3 separate regions of the Homo sapiens genome follow, and all the other regions are linked to region 3. The links are contacts of gene promoters, found by promoter capture Hi-C in blood cells and fetal thymus (Javierre and others, 2016). All regions are on one chromosome and are shown on one strand. Each heading gives the region's core, a stretch centred on a gene start or on the middle of the fragment in contact. The rest is flanking DNA. Distances are from core to core; before and after follow the strand shown. Region 1 overlaps CNOT3 (CCR4-NOT transcription complex subunit 3). Region 2 overlaps PRPF31 (pre-mRNA processing factor 31). Region 3 holds the start of CTU1 (cytosolic thiouridylase subunit 1).

Region 1 (4,433 bases), core at 1-2,500, 3.0 Mb before region 3:
TTGCGCTTGTCCGCCATCTTCCCTGCCCTACAGACGCACTCTCTTCATACTCTCTTGGAGACGGACGCTGCTAGGAGAGATTGGAGAGGAATTAACACGTATTCCCTGGCTGGTAAAAACCCAGAGACATGGACCTAGTCAGCATAGTGAGGTAGGTGGGACTGGTAAAGAGAAGAAGCATTTGCTATCTGACAAGAGACCAGCCCCAGTTCTCCTGATGCTCGCTTGACTGCCCAGCATAGTGTCTGGCCAACAGGGGACCCCATAAGTTTGTTGAAACAAGAAAAGTTACATACTTTTTTGTGTGCCTCTGACTCAGGAAGTGGAAAATTCCTAGAGCATGGAGTACCTTCTCCCCAGAATACACTCAAAAAGGTTTTTCAGAGCAGGACAGTCATGCTGCACACAGCTGATGACTGGGATGGAGGCATTAGCCCTGGAGATCACACTTCCTACTCAGAGGGGCTGGGCAGAGGTGGCTAGGAGAGGTCATCCCTCAGACAAGTCAGGAGACAAATGAAACTGGCAGCTCACAGAGAAGGGCGTGTGTGTGTGTGTGTGTAAGCTGTAGGTAGGAGAAGAAAGATTGGGGGTGGGGGAAAACGACGGCGAGCAGAGATGCCGAAAGCTGTGAAGAGCTGAACCCGCTCATGCAGACAGGGCTGAATGCCAAGTAGAAGGGACTCAAACCACCAAGACATTTATTCCAGAGCAGGATCCTTAAACCAAAAGGAAATAACACTCCTAACCCAAAGAAGCTAATACCAAGAAGGCTTAGAGATTTGGGGGCAGAAGGCAGTACCCAAGAGAGACCTGGGAGAAGACAGAAATCTTACTAAGATAAGAGGGTGCAAAGGTACCGCAGCTGTGAGGGAGCCGATCTGCACTCACGGAGGAATCCCATAGCAAGTGGATTGGTAATTTAGAGTCAGGGAGACATAGACCATCAGGGCAGGAACCCAAAACTTCAAGAGAGGAGCGTCTTTATTTTAAAGGAAGTTACCTGGAACCCAGAGAAGACTGAGGTCAAAAGGGAGTTCCAAGGAGCTTTAGTCCAAGGGAAGACATACCTTAGGGCCTGACAGCGAGACCAGGGGAGCCCTGGGAAGAGAGGCTTATGCCTCAGAAGAAGACTTCTGAGATACCAGCGGAGATTGCCCTCTTCCCCTCCAGGGAGGGGGCCTACAATGAAAAGCACAGTTCCCTGGGATCCACGGGCCGCTCCCACTCTACGTGTGCAGGGCAGGGAACCCTGGAGTAGTCACTTACTGTAAAGACAGAAACAGCCCCATACTGAGGAACAAGAGCCTCAATACAGAGGGAAGTCACACCAAAAGAGTCCTCACCCACAAAGAAGGGAACATCTGGCAAACAGTGCTATCCAACAGAACTTTGCAATGCTGGAAACACTCTATTTGCGCATATCTGTTGGCCACTGAACATCTGAAATGTGGCAAGTGTAATGGAGGAACTGAATTTTTCATTTTTAACTAGTTACTAATCACCACATGTGACTAGCAGCAACCATATGGGACGGATATGCTTTAGAACAAGAAGCCCACAAAGGACAGGGCTGGTACCTTACCCCCAGGGAGAATTTTCCCAACACCGCAGGGACCCATTCTGGGTGATAATAGGTAGGGGTGCTACCTTACACTTGAGGGAATTTAAATCTCCTCAGTAAAAGGCCCAACCTAAAGAAAGCCGCAGCAGCCCCCGCCCAGGTCAGCTATCACGCCCTACCTGGGGAATCTCTAAGAAGGCAAAGCAACCAACAAAAGGACCCAGGAGAAGGTGCCACAGTGGGGATTCAGGCTGAGGAGGGGAAAGCCTCTTTGACCCAGGGAGCTCACACAAGGCAAGGGCCTGGACACCAGAGCTCAGGTGTGCAGGGATCCTCACCAAAGTCCAACACCCCAACACAGAAAAGCCTCTTACTGCATAGGGGGAACAAGAATGTGAAACGAGAGTTTACACTCCCTCTTTCCATCCCAAGAACCCAACAGAGGGTCATGGGCAGGTGCTCCAGCCCAGAGAGAGAAGAGGTCTCATGGTCTACACCCCTAAACAAGGCAATCAACACCTTAGGCAGGTGACGCCCTCCCTGTGTCTCCACACGGAAAGGACTGGTATCCTAGTGCAGAGGAAGAATACCCACAGACAGGAGACCACACTGTGGCAGCAAGAGAAGGAAGTCCTGGAGGGGTCACAAGCCAGGAGGAGGGGAACAAGAGCGCTAACCCAGGGAGGTGATGTTTCAGACAGAACAGTGTGACATCGAAGTCGGCTACAGCTGAGACCCAGTGAGGAGGCAGCTCCTCCACAGAGAAGGGGCAAGTGCCAGAGGCCCAGGGTACTTGTCCCCTAGAGAGGCTGGAGCCTTAGCCACAGTAGAGACAACACCTTCCCCGCTAAGAAAATCCCTATATCATGAGGGTATCTGTACCTCTGGTCCCCCCAGCAAAGGACCAGAGAGAAGGGAAGCTGGAGCCTGAGTCTCGAAGCAGAGACGCCGCCAGAGAAGAAAGAGCCCCATTTGCTGTAGTCAGGGGGGCATCCACCAAGATCCTCCAAGGAAGGTGGTGATCGCAGGTCCACTCTCAGGCGTGAAGAACCTGTGCTCCAGCAGCAAAGGCTCTCCAAGAGCACTGAGGAATCTGGGAACCTCGGCCCAGGAGGAGACTTACCCAAGAGGAACACACATCCCCACAGGGAAGGGACCCACAAGGCGGGTGGCGGGGTGGGGGGAGGTGAGCAGGACACCAGCCTCACAGGAGCCAACACGCTAAAATCAGAGCCAAAACCAGTAAAGAAGAGCCCCCCAGACTTCATCTCAGGGAAGATGATACCACCACACAAAGACTCGAGGAGGGAGGGGCAGGAGGTCAGCCCTGGGAAACTAACACCGGGTGGTCCTTAACCTTGGGGGCCGTCATGTGCCCACAGAGTGGTCTTTGTCATGAGGCACCTTTGATCTGGGAGAGCTTCCGCCTCTGCAGCAAGGAGCTCTGAGAAGTGATGTTGAAGGGTGATCCTTAACCCAGGTGGCTGCTGACGTGGCCACACAGAGGCTCTGAGACTCCAGAAGAAGGATGCGTTAGGGCCTGGGGTAGAGGTAGTCATCTCCACTGAGATGCCCCATGCCAAGGGTGGGGGGCTGGAATCTCCCACCTTGGAAAGTCTACACCAGAGAAGTCTCTGGTCCCAGGGACAGGGTCTACAGTGGAGTCTCCCGCTTGAGACTCAGGTATCTTACATCCACACAGCCAGGAAACTATGCCTTACCCCATACAGTGACAAATCAAGAGGGGGTTTTGGAAGCATTAGCCGGGGGCACCTGCATCCGAGAGGGGTCCTCAGCCTTACGGTGGGGACACATGCAGAGGCGTGGACACCTCAAATCCAGAAAAGCAGCCATACCAATACCAAGGATGGCAAGAACCTTATCCCTGGGGGAGGTGACACCAAGAAAGGGTCCTTACCCTGGAGAGAAGGCACAGCCCCAGAGGGAAGAGCCCCCACCTCGCAGTACAGGAACCCGGGTCTAGGAAGCTTCCTACTCTCATGGGGTACCAGCAGCGGGGCCAGAAGGCGAAACCCTTGTTCTCCAACTGCTGACACCCAGCGTAAGGGTAGATGGGAAGTCAACAAACCCACAGTGTGGGATCTGATGCAAATATCAAGGGCAGTGGGCTTCTTGGTCCTTGGAGAGCTGACACCCTAAAGGAGGAGACTGGTGTGAAGATGGAAGAAGCCTCATACTCAGGCAGGGGTGAAGGGAGGGAGGGGAGACATCAAAACCCCTCACCAAAAGGACAGGAGAGCTCACCCCGGGGTGGGTGGCCGCCCTGCACTGAGAGGCAGGGACTGCTCAGAAAGAGGGGCTGGTGCTGCCCGCAGTGGGAGCTCACTAACATGGACAGCGTGGCGGCTTAGTGTCTTTCACCAGGCACCTGAGCGCCAGGGGATCCCAGCAGCCCCCAGCAACAAGACCACAGTGGTCCTGATATCACTGGGAGACGCCCACACCCAGAAGGTCGGAGAGTCACGATGCAGGGGAGTTCAAGGCTGCAAAGCCAGGGGCAGACGCCAGGATCAAAGAAGTGTGAGAGCTGAGACCAGACGTGGGCCACACTGAGGACGGTCCTGTACCCCAGGTGGGGGAAAGCCAAACTCCCCCAAAAAGGCAGGCGCCCAGTGCAGCGGGATGGCGAGGCTGGAGCCACCCAGGGCGCTACTCGCTATGAGAGGGAAGAGCTGCAGACTACAGAGGTGGAAACTTCGGCAAAGGCTCCAACTAACGGGGAGTTTCTCCTCCACTCCTCTCCCAAGAGGCTCCCATCCGATACAGACGGGCAGCTGGAACCTGAGATCCAGGGGAGGCTGCGCTCCCGGGAGCAGTGAGGAGGGATGCGGAGGGCGGCCTCGGTCCT
Region 2 (4,665 bases), core at 1,759-4,258, 3.0 Mb before region 3:
CTCCCCAGAGCATCCCTTACCCCACGTCTGTTTCTGGAAAACGCTTCTTTGTGCTTTAGTAATAAGAGGTCAGGCACAGTGGCTCATACCTGTAATCCCAGCACTTTGGGAGGCTGAGGCAGGAGAACTGCTTGAGCCCAGGAGTTGGAGAGCAACCTGGGCGACATAGGGAGACCCCATCTCTACACATAATTAAAGAAAAAAAATTAGCCAGGCATGGTGGTGTACACCTGTGGTCCCAGCTGCCTGGGAGGCTGAGGCAGGAACGCCTGAGCCCACAAGGTCAAGGCTGCAGTGAGCTGGGATCGTGCCACTGCATTCTGGCCTGGGTGACAGAGTGAGACCCTGTCTCAAAAAACAAACAAACAAAAAGATGTTGTGTTTAAAAGTCATGCAAATACTAACTGCCTGATGTCACAGCCAGTAGAAGGCAGAGCTCAGATCTGACACCAGGCAGGGCGGCGTCAGAGTCTGCACTCCTAACCCTGATGCTCAAATGGCTCTTTAAGTCCTTAAGACTCAGGCAGCGACTCAGAATCCTTCCCTCCCTTTCTGGAAGGATCAGACGCCTCCTCTGTGTACCCGCAGCACTTGTGCACCTCCAGTAAACAGGGACTGCCACAGCTTGTGAGATGTTTCACCTCTGCCTCCTCAACCAGACACCGGGTGTGACGGGGTCTGACTCCATCCCTGAGCCTGGCCTGACATCAGGAAATGTCACTTTCTGTGTCCCATAACCCTCTGGAGGGAGAAATTCCTTGGCCTGGCATCTGGAACTCTGCAGGATTCTCTCTCCGGATATCTGAGGCCCCGGGCCTGCCGCTGTCTTTCCCTGGGCCCCCTTCTCCCTTTCTTTGCCTGGCACATGCATTCATGCTCTACAGTCCAATTCAGCTATCGATTCTTCCTGACACCTGGGGCAGGGTCAGCCAGTCCCTCCTGTGGCTCCGGTGTCCCCAGCTTGGTACCACCACTGATAGCTGTCTGGAACCTGGCCTGCCTCTTCCACTAGACCTTGAGTACTTTGAGAGCAAAGACCTGGGCGATTCAACTGGGTGCCCAGGTAAACGTTAAAGAAAGCAAGCAGTGAGTCTCCCGAAACTCTGCCCTCTCACTACACTTCTTTCCCCAGAAACCTCCTATGGCTTCCTGTCATCAACAAATTCCATTCAAGAAGAATGGGAAGGCTGGGCGTAGTGGCTCATGCCTGTAATCCCAGCACTTTGGGAGGCCGAGGTGGGCGGATTACTTGAGGTCAGGAGTTCGAGACTAGCCTGGTCAACATGGTGAAACCCCATCTCTACTAAAAAATACAAAATAGCCAGGCATGGTGTTGCATACCTGTAATCCCAGCTATACATAAGGCTGAGGGAGGAGAATCGCTTGAACCCGGGAGGTGGAGGTTGCAATGAGCCAAGAACACATCACTGCACTCCAGCCTGGGCGACAGAGGGAGACTCTATCTCAAGGAAAAAAAAAAAAGAATAGGAATGGTAACAGGACTGCCCTCTTAAGAGTGAGTCTGAGCACTCATGAGATAAGCTAGTGTTCTCTCAATTTGGGCATGAGAAAAGGTTTTAGGTTATTTTTTTTTTTTTTGAGACGGAGTCTTGCTCTGTCGCCCAGGCTGGAGTGCAGTGGCACGATCTCGGCTCACTGCAAGCTCCGCCTCCCAGGTTCACGCCATTCTCCCGCCTCAGCCTCCTGAGTAGCTGGGACTACAGGCACCCGCCACCACGCCTGGCTAATTTTTTGTATTTTTAGTAGAGACGGGGTGTCACCGTGTTAGCCAGGATGGTCTCGATCTCCTGAACTCATGATCCACCTGCCTCCGCCTCCCAAAGTGCTGGGATTACAGGCGTGAGCCACGGCGCCCGGCCTTAGGTGGTTCCTAAATAATTATATATCTATTTTTATACAGTGACTTTGTCTTTGCCAAATGATACCAGTTTTCCATTCATGGTAGCAATTTGCTTCCTTCTCAGATAAATTTAAGAAAAAAAGTCCTAGACTCAAAGAATATGTTAAGCAAATAATAGGATAAGCGGCTTATAGATGTGGCAAAAACCCTGTAACCGGTCATGTGAATCAGTGAAGTCTGGGAAACCTCAAGCTGAGTCCTATCATGATCAGTAAGCTCAGCACACAGGAAGGACTTAAGAAGCATGAGCTTTACAATGCAATATATATTTAGTGGAAAAGGGAACGGGTTGGGGTGAAACAAAAAAAAAAGAAGGCTCTGGAAAAGGCTGAGAAGGAGATATACCCAGCCACAAGCAGCCAGGGAGCCAGGGGGCCTGGCAGGAGAGACAGGAGATGGGGAGGGGCACAGAGTGGGAGGAAGCACCTTCTGAAGCTTTGGCTTGCTTGCTGATATACTCCTCAATCTTCATCATAATCTCAGCAAACTGTAGGAAAGGAGAAGACAGTCAGAATCCAGCACTCTTCAAAAAGAAGCCTGTATCACCCCCTTCTGGGAGATTCTGTCTAGAGCCCCCTGCTAGGAACACCTCTTGTCCTCTTACCATCTTACTATCCCATAGCTTGGCGATGGTCTTGACTGAATCCCCGGAAAGATCCAGCTGTGTCTCCTCCTGCACATCCTCGATCGCTGGCTCCTCTTCTTCCTCCCCATAGCTTCCTCCTTCCTCCTCTTCTGCTGCCTCTTCGAGATCAGCTAAGAGCTCATCTGCCAGAGACATCCCGAGGCCTGGGGAGGGACAGCAGCGTTCCCTAAAAACTTGCCCCGACAAAGTCCCTCCTTATTACTGAGCGATGATTCTCCCCCAGAAGACCCTGGTCCTTCTTTATCAACCCCACTAGCATGCAGGCTCCACGACAACAGGTGCTTTAGTTTGTTTTGTTCACTGGCGAGTCTCCAGCTCCGACCTGTGCAAGACGCAGCACACCCCTATGACCGCCACCTTGCTAAGACTTACTGGAACCAAGTGGTGTAGATTCCAAATGCATTTGCAAACTTTCTTATTCCTTTCTTGCCTTTAGCCTTGAAAACATACTTTGAAATTCTTTGTTTCCCTCCTTTCCCACTAGATACTGTCTTGCACTGCTGGCTTATCTATGTGCTTACTTAGAAGTTCCAGGGGCTAATCTTTATTTATTTATTTTTTAAAGATGGAGTCTGGCTCTGACACCCAGGTTGGAGTGCAGTGGCGCAGTCTTGGCTCACTTGCAACCTCCACCTCCTGGGTTCAAGCGATTCTCCTGCCTCAGCCTCCTGAGTAGCTGGGACTACAGGCACCTGCCACCATGCCCAGCTAATTTTTTTTTTTTTTTTTTGTAGAGTCAAGGTTTCACTATGTAAGCCAGGCTGGTCTTGAACTCTTGACCTCAAGTGAGCGACCCACCTTGGCCTCCCAAACTGTTGGGATTACAGGCGTAAGCCACCGCGCCTCGCCGCAGGGGCTAATCTTGAAACAAACTAGGTATGGAAACCCAGCTGCAAAACTCCAGAGATCACCTCAAGGCGATCAATCTACAACGTGGCCATTGTTGACTTGACACCAGCCCATGCTCCAGGTGGCCCGTGACTCAAGACAGCCTTCGGAGCAAGACACACATACCTTGTACCCAGCACCACTCCTGTATGCCTCCCATTCAAAGTTCCCCTTTTTAAGCCCCTCTCCCCAGCCTAAAGCTTGAAATGGTCTTCTAAAGACATTAGCTTGGCCATTTCTCATCTGCGAGCATTTGATCAGTAAAGCTGCTTTACTTTCACCACCCCCCACTTCCTCTGCCTCTGAGTAGCAGAAACTTGAGTTGGTTACATTATCGGTCTCTTCCCGCCTCCAGGTCTTTGTACAGGAGTCCCTTGTAACTAAAGTGGCCCTTTCCTTCACTTTGTTTTTTCTTTTCTTTTCTTTTTTTTGAGACCATGTCTTGCTCTGTCACCTAGGCTGCAGTGCAGTGGCGCCATCATAGCTCACGGCAGCCTCGATCACCTGGGCTCAAGCGATTCTCCCGCCTCAGCCTCCCGATAGCTGAGATGACAGGCACGCACCAGCACGCCCGGCTAATTTTTAAATTTTTCTGTAGAGACAGGGTCTCACTGTGTTGCTCAGGCTGGTCTCAAACTCCTGGGCTCAAGCGATCCTTTCGCCTGGGCCACCCAAAGTGCTGGGATTACAGGAGTGAGCCATGGCGTCTGGCTCTCCTCACTTCTTAGTAGCCCAGCATCTCCTCAGCCTTCAGCTCTCACGTTCCACCTCCCTGACCCACACGCCCCACTCTAGACTACAGGAGGTTGCTTTGTGATAACGTGTCCCGCACGCTCTGCGTGTCTACAGTAAGGCACTTCACACATTTGTGATTAATGAAGTAATTATTTGATAAAGCCTGTCTGCCAGGCATCAACCAAAGCTCTAAGAGGGTAGCGAACAATTTTTGCTCCTTCCACATCCCCAGGGCCACACCATGGTAGGCGCATATTAAGACTTTTGGGTAAACAGGCTGTAAAAGGCCGGGAGCGGTGGCTCATGCCTGTAATCCCAGCACTTTGGGAGGCCCAGGCGGGTGGATCATCTGAGGTCAGGAGTTGGAGACCAGCCTGGCCAACATAGTGAAACCCCGTCTCTACTAAAAATACAAAAAACTAGCCGGGCGTGGTGGTGCGCGCCTGTAATCCCAGCTACTCGGGAGGCTGAGGCA
Region 3 (4,800 bases), core at 2,033-4,532:
ATGAGCTCACCTGGGGAGTTTGCAGAGAAATGACAGCGCTGTGGAGTACAAGGCTCCTGGCAAGTTGATTGACATGGTTTGGCCAGAAAGAGGACCAGGGAGGGTAGATTTTGTGGTCAGGGCAAAGAGACTCAGAAGTAGGTAGAGCCCAGGTTAGACCTTTATTTGTCAATAAAGAGGCCACTGGTGTTGATCGGGAGACTGTGTTAGGGGAGACAGGAAAGAAACCAGACAGCAGAGGGCTGGGAGTGAGAGGGCTTCTCATGGCTGACCTCACCTCTTTTCCCATCTATCTCTGGAGCCCCAAATATCCCACTCTTATCCTGGTCCCACAGAGGAGAATGGGGAAACTCTATACACCCCGATTCAGCATGCACTCCCACATTGTTGCAGGACAGAGGCTGCCTCTGAGGAGGAGAACTAGACAGTGGGTGGGTGGGGGGAGACGACAGGGAGACTTCACTGTAGAGTCTATGCACTGTTTCCATTTTATAGCATTTAAGTGCATAACCTGATTAGATAACATAAATTGCATTCAAACAAAAGGCACCCTGTGCTTTCTTGCCACAAGATCTTTCTTTGCTCAGGCGATTTCTTCTGTATTAAAAGGCCATTTCGACCCTCAAATTCTCAACCTCCTTTGCCACACTTCACACCTCTTCCAGGAGCAAGCACAGCTTGGAGACTAAGGAGACAGGCTTTGAGCAAGGAGCTACAAACCAGAGACCACCAGCCAAATCGGGCCTGCTGCCTGTTTTTACATGGCCCACAAGCTACAAATGATTTTACATCTTTAAATGGTGTAAAATCTTCAAAATTCTTCAAAAGAAGAATATTTCCTGACACATGCAAATTACATGAAATTCAAATGTCAGTGTCCATCAATAAAGTTTTATTGGTATACAGCCACCCTCACTTGCTTATCTTATATCAATGGCTGCTTTCAACATACAACAGCAGAGTTGCCACAAAGACCCTGTGGCCCACAAAGCCTAAAATATTGGCTACCTGGCCCTTTACAGGAAAGGTTTGCAACCCCTGCTGTAGAGTCAGGCAGTCCAGGGAAGTGACATCACTGAGCTTCAAGATCCTCACCTAAGTAGAATTACAAGGCTGGGCATGCTGACTCACACCTGTAATCCCAGCACTTTGGGATCACTTGAGGTCAGGAGTTTGAGACCAGCCTGGCCACTATGGTGAAACACCGTCTCTACTGAAAATACTAACATTAGCCAGGTGTGGTAGCGCACCTGTAATTCCAGCTACCCAGCAGGCTGAAGCAGGAGAATCACTTGAATCCAGAAGGTGGAGGTTGCAGTGAGCCGAGATCGCGCCACTGCACTCCAGCCTGGGTGACATAGTGAGACTCCATCTCAAAAAAAAAAAAAAAAAAAGAAGAAGAAGAATTACAGTTGTACCCAACTCATATGTAACATATAATCTTAATGTTATGAGAATTGAGATGAGAATAATAACCACTTGTTGAGCACATACTATGTGCCAGAAGCTGTTCTAAATTCTTTAGAGGTGTTGTTAATTCAATTTGACTTCGCATAAATCCTATGAGGCAGGCTATTATTGCCCCCCTTTCACAGATGAACAAACTGAGATGATGCATGGCACATAGCAGCCTTTGTTGAATTTTTTTTTTTTCTGACACCCTGGCTGGCAGTGATTGAAATTGAGCTTTCAAGGCTCTTAACACTTCCATGTCAAGCTTTATCACTCCATATTGACTAAGTCCCTGTCTCCCCCACCAGGAGGACAGGGTGGTGGTGTAAGGGGTGGGGGATGCTCAGAGGACAGTAACCAAGTCTGATTCATTTGTGTCACCTAAACCTAGCCCAGGGGCAGCCTGGCACAAGGAGACCTCAGGAAATAAATTCAACAAATGAACCAACGCACACAGATGAACAGAACTGGCCCATGATAAGGCTTAAGAGTGACCTCACGGAGCTCATTTAATATGAAAGGAAGGCATCATGGTTTCCTGTTATGGGGGAAAAAAATGGGCTACAGGGTGCATGGGGTTCCTTCTCACGTCATCACCGGCCGTAGACCTACACATCCTGGGGCTCTCTGCACATCTCCACATCTCAGTCTAAGGCTCTGGTGGTCCCTTAATCTAGAGGATTTTTTTTTTTTTTTTGAGACAGAGTCTCACTCTGTGGCCAGGCTGGAGTGCAGTGGCGCGATCTCGGCTCACTGCAACCTCTGCCTTCTGGGTTCAAGCCATTCTCCTGCCTCAGCCTCCCGAGTAGCTGGGACTACAGGCGCGCACCACTACGCCCAGCTAATTTTTGTATTTTTAGTAGAGATGAGGTTTCACCATGTTGGCCAGGATGGTCTCCATCTTTTGACCTCGTGATCCACCCGCCTCGGCCTCCCAAAGTGCTGGGATTACAGGTGTAAGCCACCGCGCCGTCTAGAGGAATTTTGAGCCTCAGTTTTTTCGAGGACCTAGGTTTGGGGACCTGGATCTCAAGGGTCTCAGATATCTGAGTCCTTAAACTCCTTGTGCCCCGGTATTTGAGTCACCGGGGTCTTCAAGACCCTTGGGCCTTGTGGGGAGGGTGGAGGCCTCCAGATCCCTGTGTCTAGGGTGCAGACGGTTGTCTCCAGGTCTACTGGTTCTCTCAGGTGCTTTGGTGCCAGGGGTCTGCGTTTTTAACCCCCTTAGTCTCAAGGGTCTGAGTCTCTGAGCCTCTGGGCTCCTGGGTTAGGTGAGAAGGGTCTTTGGATCCTTCTGTTTAGAGTCTGGGTCTCCAGCACGCGCATCACGACAGCCCCCGCGTGCGCGCGGAGTTCCACTCCAATCCTCGAAGTCTGCTCTACGCATGCGCTATCTGCGCCTTTTACACTAGCGACCAACCCCTGCAGTTCCACCTTCAATTCCCACCCGCAACCCCGCCTCAAAGGGCAGAAATCATAGGCCCTGTAATCCCCTTAAAATCCTATAATAATCCCACAAAATCAGTTAATCAGAATACAACTACTTCGCCCATCCAGCAACCTGCCGGGTGACAGCGCGCTGCCATGACAACAGTACACGCAGCTCCGCCGCTCCCTGCGGCCGCGCGCAGGCGCAGAAAGTAAACGCGGGGGGAGGGGGAGCAGTGTATTTTGGGAGCGGCAGAAAGAGCAATGCAAGTGTTTCTGGGAGTTGTAGGCCAAGCGGGACCCCGGAGCCGTAGGCGCATCCAGCGGAAGTGTCGCATGGGCTTCTGGGAGTTCTAGGCAAGAAAGCCCCAAGACCTTATGGGAGTGGTAGTCTCGGAGTCACTTCCGGGCCAGGCTTCCGCGTGGTGGGCAGTGTGGGCATCCCAGCACTGAGTTCTGCCCGGGTGAGTATTTCCTCCTGCGGTGGGTCGGCATGTGGACTCCGGCTCTTTGTTGCGGTGCCGTGGGAGGGTTGAGGGTCTCTTCGAGCGTAAGGCCTCTGTGATTTCCCAGCGCCCGTGTCCCTGAGGCCTTGTAGCCAGGATTCCCACTTTGAACGCTGCGGTCCGGCCTGTCTCTTACCGGGCCACTCCCTTCCCCAAGACAGGATAAGACCATCTGCTTGCCCCCGCCCCTATGTTACTATCTGCCTGTCCCCGCCCCCATGCCACACATTATCTGTCCTTTTGACAAGGCTGCAATCCAGAGGCATCCCTGGGGTCCGCGGCCTCTCTTCTGGGAGCACTTATTATTCCCTCATCCTACAGATACTTACTGAGCACCGACTCTGCGCAGGGCGGCGGGAGCGAGGGCACCAGACCAACCCTGTCCCTGCCTTGAAGCAGAGAGACAGACCTGTCACCAGTGACAGCTAGTCAGGATCAGGGCAGCTCTGAGGGCCCTGGTGGAGGCGCTCGACTCAGTGACGAGGGTCCATAAAGTCTTTGAGGGAAGACGCTTAACATGCATGTCAAACCTGACGTGGCCAAATGGAATTCCTGGTCTTCTCACCTCACAAAATGGCCCCACCGTCCCTCCAATGCTCAGGCCAGAACCTCAAAGTTACCCTTCATCACTTTCTCTCGTCGTTGCCCCAGTCCCCACTCCAATCAGTCTTATACAAGTCCTGTGGGCTCCACCTTCAAAATAGATCCAAAATTTCACTTCTTCCCACCTCTACTGCCAGCACTCCTGTCTAGTGTGCTGACCTCCAGCCTTCTGTCCTTGTCCCTGACAACCAACAGTCCTCCCCACACAGCAGCCAAACGAATCCCACTTTTTTTATTTGAGACAAGGTCTCACTCTATCACCCACGCTGGAGTGCACTGGTGCGATCATGGCTCACTGCAGCCTTGACCTCCTGGGCTCAAGTGATCCTCCTGCCTTGGCTTCCTGAGTAGCTGGTACTACAGGCCTGTGCCACCAGGTGCAGCTAATTTATTTATTTATTTTTTTAGAGATGGGGTCTCGCTATGTTGACCAGTCTAGGAATCCTTTTAAAACATGCCAGATCATACCACTTTACTGTTCAAAAACCTCCCAAGGCTCCCATCTCCTCCTGAATAAACCTAAAATTCCACATCATGGCCTATGAGGCTCTGCTAACTTGTGCAGCCTTGTCCCCTGCGAGCGTCTCCCTTCCTCAGGACGTGGACCCCCCAGGACTGGGTGACTGTAGATTTAGGGGGTGAGGAGAGATGAGTCCAGGGTGACGTTACGTCCTGTCCTGCAGATGGGCTGGATGAAAGGTGGTGGCTGCTCTCAGAAGAGAGGGAACAGATGGGCAAGAACAGGTTTCTGCCTTTCGAGGAAGAAATAGGTTGTCTGGGCGCTTAGGGTCTGAACATCTTTAAGGTGCCC

The links. The method cuts DNA at HindIII sites, captures the fragments that hold promoters and counts their contacts. A CHiCAGO score of 5 or more calls a contact.
Region 1: a fragment that was not itself captured here is called in contact with the fragment with the promoter of CTU1 in region 3 in 1 of 17 cell types (naive CD8 T cells); the score reaches 6.3 in naive CD8 T cells.
Region 2: a contact is called between a fragment that was not itself captured here and the fragment with the promoter of CTU1 in region 3, in 3 of 17 cell types (fetal thymus, naive CD8 T cells and naive CD4 T cells). The highest score is 5.8, in fetal thymus.

The regions. Positions count from the first base shown.
Region 1 is chr19:54,138,563-54,142,995 of GRCh38, reverse strand. CNOT3 (CCR4-NOT transcription complex subunit 3) reads right to left here. Exons shown (of 18, transcript NM_014516.4): 2 at 1-67. The coding sequence starts at 17. Among named protein-coding and RNA genes, the nearest start is that of CNOT3, 3.0 kb to the right of the region's middle. The HindIII fragment of the contact is 4,608 bases long and covers 1-3,554 here.
Region 2 is chr19:54,116,316-54,120,980 of GRCh38, reverse strand. PRPF31 (pre-mRNA processing factor 31) reads right to left here. Exons shown (of 14, transcript NM_015629.4): 2 at 2,526-2,710; 3 at 2,348-2,408. The coding sequence starts at 2,702. PRPF31-AS1 (PRPF31 antisense RNA 1) reads left to right here. Exons shown (of 4, transcript NR_186329.1): 4 at 589-1,471. Among named protein-coding and RNA genes, the nearest start is that of PRPF31, 2.9 kb to the right of the region's middle. The HindIII fragment of the contact is 1,299 bases long and covers 2,359-3,657 here.
Region 3 is chr19:51,106,891-51,111,690 of GRCh38, reverse strand. It overlaps CTU1 (cytosolic thiouridylase subunit 1), which reads left to right and starts at 3,282. Exons shown (of 3, transcript NM_145232.4): 1 at 3,282-3,344. RefSeq lists an enhancer at 2,987-3,316. The HindIII fragment of the contact is 4,633 bases long and covers 1,720-4,800 here.